Linked DNA regions of Homo sapiens: regions 2, 3 and 4 are each linked to region 1. Evidence: promoter capture Hi-C in 16 types of primary human blood cells and fetal thymus (Javierre and others, 2016). All regions are on one chromosome and are shown on one strand. Each heading gives the region's core, a stretch centred on a gene start or on the middle of the fragment in contact. The rest is flanking DNA. Distances are from core to core; before and after follow the strand shown.

Region 1 (4,281 bases), core at 281-2,780:
ATCACTCCCTCTGTTTTACAGATGAGGAAACTAAGGCATAGAGAAGTTCATACTGCCAATCACCTGAGTGGTGCTAGGATTTGAGCACACAGTCTGACTTCAGAGTCCATGCTCTTGGCCACTATGCCATATTGCCTTTTGTACCTGTAACTTTTATTTTTCTCTCCAAGCTTTTGCTTACGTTGTTTCTTCTTCCGGAATGCCTTTCGTTCTCCTTCTCCTCTGAATACTGCCCACCTGTCAAAGTCCCTCTCACTCACATCCTGTTCATCCTGCCCTTTTGTCTTGATACCTTACAGTCCACACCACGTCTTTTGCATGATTCCTGAGAGTATCTTATCTTACAGATATCCACAAAGAATCATACACTATCTGAGCTGGAAGAGAAATAGAAAATACAAAATCCAAAATACAAAATAAAGAAATTTATAGGAGGCCATTGGTTTGGACTGAGCTCTTCTGCTAGGCCTAACAGACCAAGCTAAAAAGAGTTAGTCCTGCTGAAGCTCCACGCCAATAAGCTGAAACGAAGATCTTTACGACCTTCTGAGTGTGTATGTGTGTGTGTGTGTGTGTGTGTGTGTGTGTGTGTGTAGGGGGGAGCTAAATTCCCAAACAGGCAAGTTTTAGGTGGCATGATAAGTCCCCTCCACTTTAACCTTTACAAGAAAAGTAATTTTGAAATTACCAAATGACCAATCCGCTTTTTGTTCTCTGTTCCTGTTTTCCTCAGTCCTTTTCTGTCTATAAAACCAAGTTCTCCTGTTCAGCTCATTGGAACAACCATTATATTTTATAGTATGAGGCACTGCCCAATTCTATAGAATCGCACCTTAAGTCCCAGCTACTCCGGAGGCTGAGGCAGAAGGATCACTTGAGGCCAGGAGTTCCAGGATGCACCTGTGATAGCCATGATTGCTATGACCGCACCTGTGAATAGCCACTGCCTTCCAGCCTGGGCAACATTGCCAGAGTCCGTCTCTTAAGAAAAAAAAAATCTTTGAACTAAGTTTGTTGTGATTTTGTCTTTTGACAAAGAAGAAAGGGCAATGTGAATTGCCCCAAATCACAGAGCGAAATGGTAGTAGTCAGGACCAAAACACTTTCTTAGCCGTTTTCTTAGTTCTTGTACCCATCTGTTTCTGTATTTTCTTCACCAGGCCATCCAGCAGTGTCTCTTAAAGGGTAGCCCGAGAAACAACTGACTTAGAAAAGCGTGGGGCACAGTCTGTCTACGCAGACCCGAGGAATCTGCATTTTAACAAACTCACTGGGAAATTCTCGCGCACGCCAAGGTTTCAAAGACCAGGGTCCCGTGGCACAGTGCCGCACAGTTGTCAAAACAAGTGCTGTCCAATTGTTTTGGTTTTAAATTCTCACTGCGTCATGGGAAATGTAGTTTCGAGCCTCCTCTCTCCCGACGCCCCAGCCAATCCTCCGGCGCTTTACGGAACGAGCCGAGTCAATCCGGAAATAACCGAGTGTTCGTGGCGGGCCCTTTCCTGCCCGGCTGCATTCTGGGAAAGGGCAATTTCCGTTAGGTGCTGAAGGCTGTGGCGCGCGGCTGTCCCCATTCCCACGTGAAGCGCTACGCTAGCATCGCTCGGCTGGCGGCTCCCAGCTCGCCGCGGAGCAGTCCCGGCAGCAGCGGGGGACCGGAAGTGGCTCGCGGAGGCTCAGAAGCTAGTCCCGGAGCCCGGCGTGTGGCGCCTCGGAGCACGGTGACGGCGCCATGTCCCTAATCTGCTCCAGTGAGTGTTGGCTGCGGCCAAGCGCGGGTCTCAGGAGGCCAGAGAGCGGCGCGGGAGCGTGTGCGGTCCGCTGCGGCGCCCGGGCCGGGGTGGAGGCGGGAATGGGGCGCTCCGGAGGCCGAGCGGCGGCCTGTCAGCACCGGAGCCCCCCCCGTCGGAGCGGGGTGCATTTGCGCAGTGCCCCGCAGTTTACATAGTGCCTGAGGTTTATTGTCGCAGACATTACTGAGGCCGGTCGCCTCATTCTACAGAGTGGAAACAGGTCTGGACAGAGAGAGCTGGTGCAAGGGAAGCAGCCTTAATGTAGGAGTCAGAAAACTCGAGGTCTTGTCCAGGGTCCGCCTCCCATTGGCTTTATGAATTGGCTCAAGGCTCTGGGCCTCGGTTTCCCCATCTGCAAAATCGAGAGCATTGCAGTGGATGTTTTGCGAGGCCTCGCTCGGATAGTCGGAGCTTTTGCAATTTGCAAAGGTCACATGATGAGTTAGAGGTAGAGGCAAGGCTGGCAGCCAGGTATCTGGCTCCCAGCCTTACACTGTATGACTAATAAAAACAGCGCACATTTATAAGCCCTTATTGGTTTACAACGCGCTTCCAAGTCTATGATCTCATTTTATCCTCACAAGAATTCCCTAAAGGAGAAATAAAGATCCTGGTTTTGCAGATGAGGATGCAAGGCGCAGGAAGAGCGGGGCTTATCTAAGGATGCGTAGCTAGTCAGTGGCAGAGCTGGGTGACGTAGTTAGGTGACACGGATCTTGGACCCTGAATCCATGCTTTTTTCATACCTTCCACTATCTTTCCCTTTGATATTTTATCATGACGTACAGACATTTTCCTTTCCCTTTTCGTTGTTTCATCAGATTACTCGTTTCCCCTCCCTTTTGCTATTCACTTCCTTCTCTTCTCAGAACCTGTACATTGATCCAAAGAGGGGGAAGAAGGAAGGGAAATGATGGAAAAGGAATCCCTCACTTTGAAGAAATTACAGCTCGCAAAGTACCTTCACATTTATTGTTTCCTTCCAATCTTCGGGAAGCTCTCTTTTACGTTCCCCAGCACCATCCTTCCTGGCATGGTTCACTCATTTGTTAGATGTTTACCGAGTGCCCTGGGGGCATCTGCATTGTACTGGAAGTGAGAGACCAGCTGTAATCCTTATCCTCAAGGGGTGCACAGTCTACGCAGGCAAGAGTGTAAATGATACCTCTATTGCGGGTTGTTGTGAAGATGAATTACTGTACTGTATGCCTAGAATTGTGCTTGGCACATAGAAATGTGCCATGCAAATGTGCCATGTAAATATTTTTAAATATTTTTATTGTAGCGATTGCCACTTTGCTCCTTGGAATCTTCCAGGTGATAAGTGTCTGTACGCTAATCAGTTGACTGGTAGCTGGTAGACTCAATAGCTTCAGGATGGGGACTGGTCACCTAGGAAGACTAAAGGGTATTAGAAGGTTGGGATTTTCAGTCCTACCCCCCATTTACCTGGGGAAATGAGAGGAACTGAAGTCGTCACTAGTGACCAGTGATTTATTGAATCATGCCTTTGTAATGAAGTTTTCATAAAAATACAAAAGGACAGGATTCAAAGAGCTTCTGTATAGCAGAACATGTGGGGGTTCCTGGAGGGTGGGGTGCCCAGGGAAGGCATGGGAAGCTCTGTACTTCTCCCATACCTCATCCTATGCTCCTCTTCATCTGTATCCTTTGTAATATCCTTTACAATAAACTGGTAAACATAAGTGTTTCCCACAATTGTTTGAGTCACTGTTGCAAATTAATTGAACCCAAAAAGGAGGTCATGGGAACCCTGATTTACAGCTGGTAGATCAGAAGAACAGGTCAAACAACCTGGGGCTTGCGATTGGCATCTGAAGGGGCGGGGAGTCTGGTGGGACTGAGACCTCAACCTGTATGATCTGACACTATCTCCAGGTACCTGGTGTCAGAATTGAATTGGAGGACACCCAGATGGTCACATCTGAGGTCACAGAAGTATTTTGTTTTGTCAGAGAATAGGAGAAACTGAGTTTGTTATTCCTGTATTCTCAGACTTTATAATTTCTTTGATAATCTGTCTGGAGCTATAGACTAAGATGGATGGCAGGGATTTGAATGGCTTCATGTGTATCTCCATGTCATGGAGTAAACTGTATTCATAGAGTACACAATCATTGTTCAGATATGAGGTGGTGATAATGGACTGCTATTCTCTAGGTGCTTGGCACATAGTAGTTGTTAATAATTATTTGTTGACTATATGATTGTCAGATAGTCAGGAGACTATCTCCTCAGTCAGGAGACTAAAGGAAAAGGTAGTTCCATAGCTGGAAAGCATTCTGGGGCCAGTACAGAACTGGCTTAGGGTCAAATGTCTTGCTTTCTGCTAGTTGAGTGTGAGGATGCCTAGTCTTGTTGGGGCTAATAGCAGATGAGGAATCCTCTAGGCCCAAGATTGCCTTCACTCCAAGCTCACTACCAGCCTTTTCTCTACAGTCTCTAACGAAGTGCCGGAGCACCCATG
Region 2 (4,221 bases), core at 1,647-4,146, 290 kb before region 1:
CATTTTCATTGCTGTGTATTATTCCTCTGCATCAATATACCTGTTATTTTCTCTTTTTCAGTTCATAGGCATTTGGGAAGCTTCCAGTGTGGAGTTCTTAGGAACAGTGCTCTATGAACGTTCTCTTATATACACATCTTCTTTCTTCTCCTTTTATTTATTTATTAAAAACAATAGAAATGAAGTCTTGGTATGTTGCTCAGGCTGGTCCTGAACCCTTGGCCTCAAGCAGTCCTTCCGCCTTGGCCTTCCCAAGTGCTGGATTTACACCATGAGCTACTGTGCCTAGCTCTTTTCTTTTTAATTGACATGTAATAATTGTACATATTTATGGGTACATAGGGATGTTTCCGTACACATAATGTTTAGTGATCAGATCAGAGTAATTAGCATATTTATCATCTTGAACATTTATCATTCCTTTGTTTTTTTTGGAGGCAGAATCTCGCTCTGTTGCCCAGACTGAAGTGAAATGGTGCCATCTTGGCTCACTGCAAACTCCACCTCCCGGGTTCAAAAGATTCTCCTGACTCAGCCTCCCGAGTAGCTGGGATTACAGGCACCTGCCACCAAGCCTGGCTAATTTTTGCATTTTTAGTGAGACGGGGTTTCACCATGTTGCCAGGCTGGTCTCGAACCCCTGAACTGTTCCTAGGTGATCCACCCGCCTCGGCCTCCCAAAGTGCTGGGATTACAAGTGTGAGCCACCTCGCCTGGCCTTATCATTCCTTTGTTTTGGGAGCATTCAATATCCTCCCTCCAGATATTTCAAACTATAGAACTTACTATTGCTAGTTACAGTCATTCTAATACACATTCTTTTTTTTTTTTTTTTTTTGAGACAGGGTCTTGCTCTGTCACCCAGGCTAGAGTGTAGAAGCACAATTATGGCTCACCACAGCCTTGACCTCCCAGACTCAAGCAATCCTCCCACCTCAGCCTCTCAAGTAGCTGGTACCACAGGTGTGTGCCACCATGCCTGGCTAATTTTTTTTATTTTTGTGTAGACGGGGTCTCCCTGTGTTGCCCAGGCTGGTCTCAAACTCCTGGGCTCAAGTGATCCACCTGCCTTGGCCTCCCAAGGTCCTGGGATTACAGGCGTGAGCCACTGTGCCCGGCTTCTAATACACATCTTTTAGAGAACATATGTATGTGTTTCTGTTGGGTGTATACTCAGAGTGGAGTGTGTCCTTGAGCAGGAAGGGTGCTGGGGTCTATGGTCCAAGCTCTCAAGGGAGAGTCAGGAAGCAGAGAGGAGGCACTGGGGGCAAGAATTTGCCCAAGCCCTGGGAAGGGAGTAAGAGAGCCGGGAATCTCAACCACAGCCTCCCAACACCAAGCTGCTCGGCCCCCAGAAAGGGTTCTGACACCTGCTTTGGGCAAAATACAAGAGAAGGTCTTGGAGGAGGCAGTGACAGAAATTCGGTACTGGGCAGAGCAAGGGTTAACTGGAAGCAAAAAAGAAAATGTTTGGAAACTGGGAGTGGGCTGGGGGCAGATGGAGGGAGGATGGAGCTATTAAGCAGGAGCTGGAAAATTCCTGGGAACTGGGGCATGACCAGGAAGTTGGCCTGCAGTCTCCAGGCGGGCATGGGGAGATTCTGGGCCAGCCTCCCCAGCCCCTCACAGCCCTGCTCTCCCTCAGAGCACCTGCCTTGAGCTGCGCCTGCCCAGAGCCCCAGTGTAAACCCACTGAAACTGGTGGCCTGGGGTGTGAACCCCTCTTGGGGACAGAGGTTAAGGTCCCCTGATAGTGCGTCCTGCCCCCGACAGCCGCAGCTCTTTTGTCCTCGGTATCTCAAATACCACGTTACTCCCAGGTGTGCACAGCTCTGGACCTGGCCTCCTCAGCCTTTTCTGATCCAATCTGTCCCCATCTACGCCCTGTTCCTTCTAAGGGGTGACCTGAATCCTGGTTTCTGACCTGTGACTCTGCCACCATTGGTGCCAGGGGCAGTAGGCTGGGGGTGTGGCCAGAGGGTATTTAAAGCACCTGTCCTGGGCCTCCTGCTCCAGATGGGAGAGCCAGGGAGCCCAGCTGCCTGCTCCTCCAAAGGACCTGCAGCAGCAGCTTTGAGGGTCTTCGTGCCTTAGCCTGGGGTGGGCGGCAAGGCAGCAGATTCAAGCAGAAGGCTCTGACGTCTTCTTACAGCCTACTCCCTGGCCAAACTGGCCATGCTTATGAGCGCTTTGCCTTGTTCATCTTCTCGTTCATTCACTCATTCATACATTCCACATGCCAGGCAGTAGGCTTGATAGAGATGAATCAGCCATGAGTTTTGTCCTCAGTGGGTTTACATCTGAGTGAGAGAAGTAAGACCCATACCTCAGTCACTGTAATAAAAAGCAGAAAACAGTAGAAATTATTAACTAGGGCAGACACTAAGAAGGGTATAAAAGGGACAGAGTGCTAGTCATTCAAGAAAAGGAGCTTACTTCCAAGGGACATATGGGAGGCCATCGTGGAGGAGGAGGCATTTAAACTGTCTTAGTATCTGGAGGCTGAAATCAGTCCAGGAGTGTGTTCCTCCTTCCTAGGGGAGCATCTCATTTTTACAAAGATCTGGACCTGGGGCAGTGTAGATGTTGAGTGAATGGTTGAGCATTAAGCATCCAGGCTGACTGTCAGGTATGAAGTTTTCATTGCTAGAAAAGGTAGAGAGGAGGGCTGGGCATGGTGGCTCATGCGTGTGATCCCAGCACTTTGGGAGGCCGAGGCGGGCGGATCATGAGGTCAGGAGTTCAAGACCAGCCTGACCAACATGGTAAAACCCCGTCTCTACTAAAAATACAAAAATTATCCAGGCATGGTGGCGCGTGCCTGTAATCCCAGCTACTCAGAGGGCTGAGGCAGGAGAATCGCTTGAACTCGGAAGGCAGAGGTTGCAGTGAGCTGAGATTGCAGCATTGCACTCCAGCCTGGGCAACAGAGCGAGACTTTATCTAAAAAAAAAAAAAAAAAGAAAGAAAGAAAAAAAAAAAAAAAAGGAAAGGTAGAGGAGGCTTCTGGGCCTGGCTGGAGGCTCCAAAACCACGCCACTGTGGAGGAGGAACACAAGCCTCCTGTTTTCGACCTCAGCAAGGGGTGTGCCTGTGTAATCCACGGTGGAGCCTGGAGCCTGCTCCTGTGTCCCAGTCCACGCTCCGGGATGGGCTCAGGTAAAGCTGTAGGCAGGCCCCGGCCAATGCGTCCTCCGGGGGTGGGGGATGTGGGGCTCAGGTGGGAGGTGTCACAGTTCCCAGTTTCAATGCTGAGAGCTGTGACCTGGGCTGGAACAGCTTGCCTTCCTGCCCTCCTGCCCTGGGCGGTCTGAATTCTCCCACTGGGCTACATCCTCCCCTGCCTCTGAGCCTTGGCACAAGCTGTTCCCTTTGAAAGCGTTTCTCTGTCATTACCTAGAGTGTCAGAATCCTTGTGGAAACAGGTGGCCCACCTAGAGGTTTGAAGAGATTTAGTGAGGGGGTGGGCAAGGGTAAAGGACCCCAAAAGCGATGAGGAGGCACCGGGAGCCAGCAGCAGTGGAAAATCAAAAGGAGCGCAGGGAGGGACTAGCACTGCCAGGACCCAGCTCGAGCTGGGGCTGAAGGTGGAGGGTACTGGAGCCTGGGGGTCAGTCTCTCCGCCTCGGAGCAAGGCAGATCCCGGTGGAAGGCAGGAGAGAGGAGGAGGGGGAGGGCCCTTGCTAATGCTCTCCTTCAGACCCTGCTCCCCCGTACCTTCCTCCCATGTCCTGCTGCCGCCTTGCCCCCCAGCACCCAGCAGATGGTGCGTGACCACCTGCAGTCGACCCTGTGCTCAAGGGGAGGGGCGGGGTCTTATCCTTTTCCTCTGGCACCCACCCCAGTCTGGCACAGAGCCCAGAGATATCAGTATGTAAAAATGGCAAGGAGAGCCGGGCACGGAGGCTCATCCTGTAATCCCAGCACTTTGGGAGGCCAAGGTGGGTGGATTGCTTCAGTCCAGGAGTTCGAGACCAGCCTGGCCAACATGGTGAAACTCTGTTTCTACTAAAAATAGAAAAAATTAGCCAGGCATGGTGGCACACGCCTGTAGTCCCAGCTACTCAGAAGGCTGAGGTGGAGAATCACCTGAGCCCAGAAGGTTGAGACTGCAGTGAGCCATAACTGTGTCACTGCACTCCAGCCTGGGCGACCCGAGTGAAACCCTGTTTCAACAACAACAAAAGAAAATATTTTAAATCTACAGAAAAAGTGCCAGAA
Region 3 (2,500 bases), core at 1-2,500, 460 kb before region 1:
TAATGAGATTAACGGCTTTTATAGTACAAAGCCAGGACCTATTTTGGCTCCAGGAACCAGGGCACAGAATCCTCTTCAGGAAGCACCCGGAGACTCTGGTGTTGCTTTGCTTCTTTCCTGGGACCTCTACTTCTTTCTGTGGAATCACAAGCACAACCTAACAGGGGGTTCAGGTGTGAAAGTGGCTTTAATAATGAAGTGACAACTAGAGAACCCTGAGGTTTTAGAGTTCAATTGAATTGAGTACATGAGAAATATACAAGATACTCAAAGAGCTGGAAGAATTTGTGAAGCAGAAGAAATCTGAAACCACAGACACTGGATCTGATCTGAGGCCTATGTTAGAACCAAAGGGAGGGATCCTGGAGGCCGGTTCTCCTAGTTAAAGTGATGGGAGCTTGGCAGACGGCATGGAGCACTCAAGGGCAAGCAGCAATCCTGCTTGGCTACTTCCAAAAACATCCACTGCCTACAGCATTAGCCATGGGGCACTGATGCCTAAGAATAACCTGTATCAACATCCACCTGCCCAAATAGCTAATGATGAGACACATTCAACTACCTGTTTTAGCCCTGGTAGGCCTGTTTGGGGCAAAGGTGAATTGAATGTTCTGGAAGAGTCCCCTGACTCTTGGACAAGGCTGTTTTTCAACACATAAGGTTGGTCAAGAGTACCTTATGAAACTCTCACATGCCCAGGGCTCCAACCCAAACCACTTTCATTTCACCTGTTCTCTACGAAGGATTGTGTGAGATGTCAAAGAATGAAGCTGGGTTCCCAGAGAAAAGATATCCCAGTGGCCGGGCGCAGTAGCTCACGCCTGTAATCCTAGCACTTCAGAGGCCGAGGCAGGAGGATCACGAGGTCAAGAGATTGAGACCATCCCGGCCAACATGGTGAAACCCAGTCTCTACTAAAAACACAAAAATTAGCTGGGCGTGGTGGTGCGTGCCTGTAATCCCAGGTACTCAGGAGACTGAGGGAGGAGAATTGCTTGAACCCAGGAAGCGGAGGTTGCAGTGAGCTGAGATCACGCCACTGCACTCCAGCCAGGCGACAGAGCGAGACTCTGTCTCAAAAAAAAAAAAAAAGAAAAGAAAAGAAAAGAAAAGTTATTCCTAGCCCTTTAGCGATTCAGGAATTCAGAGTTCAGGCCGGGCACAGTGACTCATGCCTGTAATTCCAGCACTTTGGGAGGCAGAAGCAGGAGAATTGCTTGAGCTTGGGAGGCAGAAGCAGGAGAATTGCTTGAGCTCAGGAGTTTGAGACCAGCCTTGGTAACAAAGTAAGACCCCACCTCTATTTAAAATAAAAATTAAAAAAAGAATTCAGACTGCCACTCTTACCATGACCCAGACATGAAGGGAGATGCTGAGGGCAAAGTACACAGCTGTCAGGATGATGGTCCCTTTGAACTTATGGAATAGGAGGTTGACCAGGCCAGCCTGGAAGACGAAGGTGTTGAAGAACATGAGGAAAATGATGATGATGTTGAAGAGGACTGCAATATCCTGGATGCTGTAGACATAAAAAAAAGTACAACCAATGAAGGCCTGTGTGAGGACCCAAGAGCAGGTACTATGTCCTGAGGGACACCACGAGGCCTGTCCTTTGTTGTGAGATAGGCATCTGACATCTTAAACCCTCACAGAGATAACATGGGTTTTGGGACCTGAATGACATGAAGCTAAAATTACCTAAAATTACCCACTGGCCCCATCAGTTGGGTTTGCAGTCCATAGTCAAGGCTTTCCTGCTCTAATACTCTTTTTTATTTTTAAAATTTCTTCCATACATAGTCCTATAGAAGATTCTCTGATACTCCTTATTTTTCGAGACAGGGTTTCATTCTGTTGCCCAGACTGGAGTGCAGTGGTATGATCACAGCTCACTGCAGCAACTTCCTGGGCTCAAGTGATCCTCCCGCCTCACCCTCCTGAGTAGCTGTGACCACAGGTGTGTGCCACTATACTCAGCTAATTAAAAAAAAAATTAGCTCATGCCTGTAATCCCAGCACTTTGGGAGGCCGAGGTGGGCAGATCACTTGAGGTCAAGAGTTTGAGACCAGCCTGGCCAACATGGCAAAACCCCGTCTCTACTAAAAATACAAAAAGTAGCTGGGTGTGGTAAATACATAGTGGGGTGTGGTAGCGCACACCTATAATCCCAGCTACTAGGGAGGCTGAGGCAGGAGAATTGCTTGAACCCAGGGGGCGGAGGTTGCAGTGAGCTGAGATTGTGCCACTGTACTCCAGCCTGGCGACACAGCTAGACTCCATCTCAAAAAAAAAAAAATAAAATTATGTTTTAATAGAAACAAGGTCTCACTATGTTGCCCAGGCTATCTGACACTCTTAAACATTTTTTTTTTTTTGAGATGGAGTCTTGTTCTGTCGCCCAGGCTGGAGTGCAGTGGCATGATCATGGCTCACTGCAACCTCTGCCTCCCAGGTTCAAGTGATTCTCCTGCCTCAGCCTCCCAAGAAGCTGGGATTACA
Region 4 (4,254 bases), core at 1,745-4,244, 480 kb before region 1:
GGCGCTATCTCTGGTCACTGCAACCTCCGCCTCCTGGGTTCAAGCGATTCTCCAGTCTCAGCCTCCCAAGTAGCGGGGATTACAGGTGCCCCCCACCACACCCGGCTAAATATTTTTGCATTTTTAGTAGAGACGGGGTTTCACCATGTTGGCCAGGCTGGTCTGGAACTCCTGACCTCAGGTGACCCGCCCCCCCCCCCCCCCCCCCCCCCCCCCCCCGCCTCCCAAAGTGCTGGGATTACAGGTGTGATTAATGCCCCCGGCCAAGAGTGACTAAGCTTTAAGCAAAGTGCTGTACCCCTGGCTAATTGGGATGTGGTGGGGCGGTAATTGTTACTTCTAGGCTTAAAAGGGAAGGGCCTGAAACAATTCCCTGAAGCTGGAGAGTAATATGTGCATAGAAGGCCTCCCACTAGGAACCCTCACACTCTAGGAGGCTAGTGGATAAATATAGCAGGGACCTCCATTTCCCTTCTCCCATCTCTGATCTCTGCTTATGTCTCCCGCTGACACAACTTAACTGCAAGCTGGAGGGCAAGGAAGCCCTTTAGGGTAAGTAGGAAAGCGCAGAGCACAGAGGTTAAGGTGGAAAGGAATCCAGATCCTGCTTCCCCATCTTCGCTGCCTGCAAGACAAGAGACATTAGAAAAGTTCCTGCTCTGAGCCTGATATGGAAAGAAAGTGGGCCAGCTGCACCTGGCGCGGTGGCTCACACCTGTAATCCCAGCACTTTGGGAGGCTGAGGCGGGTGGATCACTTGAGGTCAGGAATTCAAGACCAGCCTGACCAACATGGTGAAACCCCATCTCTACTAAAAATACAAAATTAGCCGGGCATGATGGCACATGCCTCTAATCCCAGCTACTTGGGGGGCTGAGGCATAAGAATCGCTTGAACCTGGGAGGCGGAGGTTGCAGTGAGCTGAGACCAAGCCATTGCACTCCAGCCTGGGCAACAAGAGTGAAACTATGTCTCAAAAGAAAAACAAAGAAAGTGGGCCAGCTGCTTGTTTTTGTAAATAAAAGTTCTTTGGAGAACGTCATCATGGTCACTTACTTACATGTTATTATATATTGCAGCTTTCATGCTATTATGGCAATGTTAAGTAGTTGCAACAGAGACCACATGGCCCACAGCCTTAAATACCATCTGACCCTTTAAGAAAAAGTTGGCTAATCTATGTCAGAGTATGCCACAACTTCATAGATGCCAAAAGCTGACAGTGAGGCCAAATTACTTATGGCAAACAGCAGGAACATCAGCATGGCAACCTGGGGGCCCCCTGCTCCCAAGTCCTATGAGTGACACAATGACCCCAGATGGTGCTGCACTCAAGGAGTTATGCCACAGCTTGGTGGAGCCCAGAGCCAAAGGCTCAGTACCCTTTTTAGCAAGCAGCAAATAAAGCCAGGCCCTTTCCACTGGGGAGGGAGAAATTATACTATCATCACACTATAGTCACTTTGGTCTACTTAATTGCTTCTGTGCTCAGTATCAGGAGACAGACTTTCTGGTTTGACATAGTAAGAACATGCAGGGATGCTTAGGACCCATGCAAGACTGTCCCAACAGCCAGTGCCCTTGCTAAATTGATTATTTCTAGGAGGCTTGTTATGTACATGATCACATCATCAGTAAATAAAGACATTTTTACTTCCTTCTCAATCTCTATACCTTCAATTTCTTTTTCTTGCCTTATTGCACTGGCCAGGACTGGCAGTGTAATGTTGACTATAAGTGGTGATGATGGATAGTCTTGTCTTGTTCCTAACCTCAGGGGAAGCGTTCAATATCTCACCATTAATATGGTGGCTATAGATTTTTTTTGTAGATACTCTTTATCAGATTAAGAAAGTCCCTTATTATCCTAGTTTGCTAAAAGGCTTATGATATATTTTATTAAGTGTGTTCTCTTAATCCGTTGAGAGGACTATATGATTTTTCTCCTTTATTCTGCTAATATGAATTACATTGATTTTCAGAGGTATGACCAACCATGTCTTCCTGGAAAAAATAAAAAACCCATTTGCTTATGAGACTGTACAGAAAAAACTTAACATAGCAGACCTGAGGCTGCTGTCTTTGGAGAGGCCCAACTGCAAGGTTGACCCTTGCCTGGCGTAAGGGAACTTGGCTTTTGGTAGTGTTCCCACCAGTTTAAAGTGGCTCACAGTGCCTAAACTGTACAAACAATGTGGCTTATGCTAAATACCTGTTCTCCTTCTCAGAGTCTGGAGTTTTGAAACATGTTAGGCAGAGGGTGCCTTCATGATCAGCTCCCAGTAAAAACCTTGGGGGCTGGGTCCAGTGGCTCATGCCTGTAATCCCAGCACTTTGGGAAGCTGAGGCAGGAGGATCAATAGAGCTCAGGAGTTCAAGACCAGCCTGGACAACACAGTGAGACCCTGTCTCTACCCAAACAAAAAAATTTAGCCAGGCATGGTGGTGCACACCTGTAGTCCCAGTTACTTCGGAGGCTGAGGCAGGAAGATTGCTTGAGCCCAAGAGGTAGAGGGAAGAGGCTGCAGTGAACCATAACTGTTTAAAAAAATAAAAATAAAAAAAATAAAACTTGGACCCTGAGTCTCAAGTGAGCTTTCCTAGTAGACAACATTGCACATATGTTATCAGAATTTGTTGCTGGAGGAATGATGAACGTCTTGTGTGATTCCCCCTGAGATAGACCTCTTGGAAGCATGCTGCTAGTTTCTCCTTGACTGTGCCTCATGTATCTTTTCCCTTTGTTGACCTTGCTTTGTATTTCACTGTAATAGATCAGAGGCATGAATACACCTGTATGCTGGGTCCCATAAGTCCTTATAGCAAATCATCCAAACTGGGTGTGATCTTGGAGACCCCTGACACAGATATGTTATCCTTTTTATATGTCACTGGATTTCATTTGCTAATTTTGTTCAGGTTTTACATATGTATCATGAGAGAGATTGGTCTGTAATTTAACTTTGTCAAGGACCTTGTCAAGGGTGGGTATTAAGGTTAAGGTGGCTTCATCCAATAAAGCGAAAGGTATTTCTTCTTTTTCTATTCTCCGGAAGAGATAGTGTAAGCTAGGTAATATTTCTTCTTCAAGTATTTGAAAGAATACACTGATGAAGCCATCTAAACCTAAATTTTTTTTTTGGTGGGGGGGAGTTTAAAATAATGAAATCCCTGTACTATATATAAGAACATTCAGATATTCTACTTCTCGAGTAAGGTTTGGGTGAATTTGTGTTTGCATAAACCTTGAATAAGGTTTGGGTAAATCATTTTGTATACATTTCCAGATGTATTGGTGTGAAGGTTTTCATAACATTCCTCAATTCTTTTTTTTTCTGTATTATAAGTCAGTAGTCAGGCTGGGCGCAGTGGCTCATACCTGTAATCCCAGCACTTTGGGAGGCCAAGGCAGGCGGATCACTTGAGGTCAGGAGTTCAAGACAGCTTGGCCAACATGGTGAAACCCCATTTGTGCTAAAAATACAAAAAAATTAGCCAGGTGTGGTGGTGCATGCCTGTAGTCCCAGCTATTTGGGAGGCTGAGGCAGGAGAATCGCTAGAACCCAGGAGGTGGAGGTTGCAGTGAGCCAAGATCATGCCACTGCACTCCAGCCTGGCAACAGAGCGAGACTCTGTCTAAAGAATAATAATAACTAATTAATTTTTAAAAATTAAAAAAGTCACCAGGCAATCCTTAAATATTACTTAATGGATGTAAGAACTGCAGTGATGTCCCTTTTCTTTCATATTTTTTTCTTCAATAGTTTTGATAGGTGTTTATCAATTTTATTAACGTTTTATTTTTGTTTTTTATTTTTTTTTATGAGACAGGGTCTCACTCTATCGCCCAGGCTGCAGTGCAGTGGCACGATCTTGGCTCACTGCAACCTCTGCCTCCCAGGCTCAAGCAATTCTCGTGCCTCAGCCTCCTAAGTAGCTGGGACTACAGGCATGCACCACCACACCTGGCTAATTTTTTTTTTTTTTTTTTTGAGACGGAGTCTTGCTCTGTCGCCCAGGCTGGAGTGAAGTGGTGCGATCTCGGCTGGCTGCAAGCTCCGCCTCCCAGGTTCACGCCCTTCTCCTGCCTCAGCCTCCCGAGTAGCCGACTACAGGCACCCGCCACCATGCCCAGCTAATTTTTTTTGCATTTTTAGTAGAGACGGGGTTTCACCGTGTTAGCCAGGATGGTCTCGATCTCCTGACCTCATGATCTGCCCGCCTCAGCCTCCCAAAGTGCTGGGATTACAGGTG

The links. Contacts are between HindIII fragments. The CHiCAGO score rates a contact against its expected background, and 5 or more counts as called.
Region 2: a contact is called between a fragment that was not itself captured here and the fragment with the promoter of PRPF19 in region 1, in 1 of 17 cell types (non-activated CD4 T cells). The highest score is 5.2, in non-activated CD4 T cells.
Region 3: a contact is called between a fragment that was not itself captured here and the fragment with the promoter of PRPF19 in region 1, in 1 of 17 cell types (naive CD4 T cells). The highest score is 6.4, in naive CD4 T cells.
Region 4: a fragment that was not itself captured here is called in contact with the fragment with the promoter of PRPF19 in region 1 in 3 of 17 cell types (naive CD4 T cells, non-activated CD4 T cells and fetal thymus); the score reaches 8.3 in naive CD4 T cells.

The regions. Positions count from the first base shown.
Region 1 is chr11:60,903,834-60,908,114 of GRCh38, reverse strand. PRPF19 (pre-mRNA processing factor 19) reads left to right here and starts at 1,530. Exons shown (of 16, transcript NM_014502.5): 1 at 1,530-1,751; 2 at 4,254-4,281. The coding sequence starts at 1,733. It overlaps PRPF19-DT (PRPF19 divergent transcript), which reads right to left and starts at 1,336. Exons shown (of 2, transcript NR_186697.1): 1 at 1,272-1,336. RefSeq lists enhancers at 1,078-1,197, 1,311-1,898 and a silencer at 1,838-1,937. The HindIII fragment of the contact is 4,469 bases long and covers 173-4,281 here.
Region 2 is chr11:61,193,304-61,197,524 of GRCh38, reverse strand. LOC124902678 (a long non-coding RNA gene) reads right to left here. Exons shown (of 4, transcript XR_007062691.1): 3 at 1,994-2,334. Among named protein-coding and RNA genes, the nearest start is that of PGA3, 8.1 kb to the left of the region's middle. RefSeq lists enhancers at 3,025-3,524, 3,525-4,026. The HindIII fragment of the contact is 5,628 bases long and covers 83-4,221 here.
Region 3 is chr11:61,365,064-61,367,563 of GRCh38, reverse strand. It overlaps TMEM138 (transmembrane protein 138), which reads right to left. Exons shown (of 5, transcript NM_016464.5): 3 at 1,348-1,519. Among named protein-coding and RNA genes, the nearest start is that of TMEM138, 3.9 kb to the right of the region's middle. The HindIII fragment of the contact is 5,415 bases long and covers 1-2,500 here.
Region 4 is chr11:61,387,218-61,391,471 of GRCh38, reverse strand. No RefSeq gene overlaps it. Among named protein-coding and RNA genes, the nearest start is that of TMEM216, 3.2 kb to the left of the region's middle. The HindIII fragment of the contact is 5,428 bases long and covers 281-4,254 here.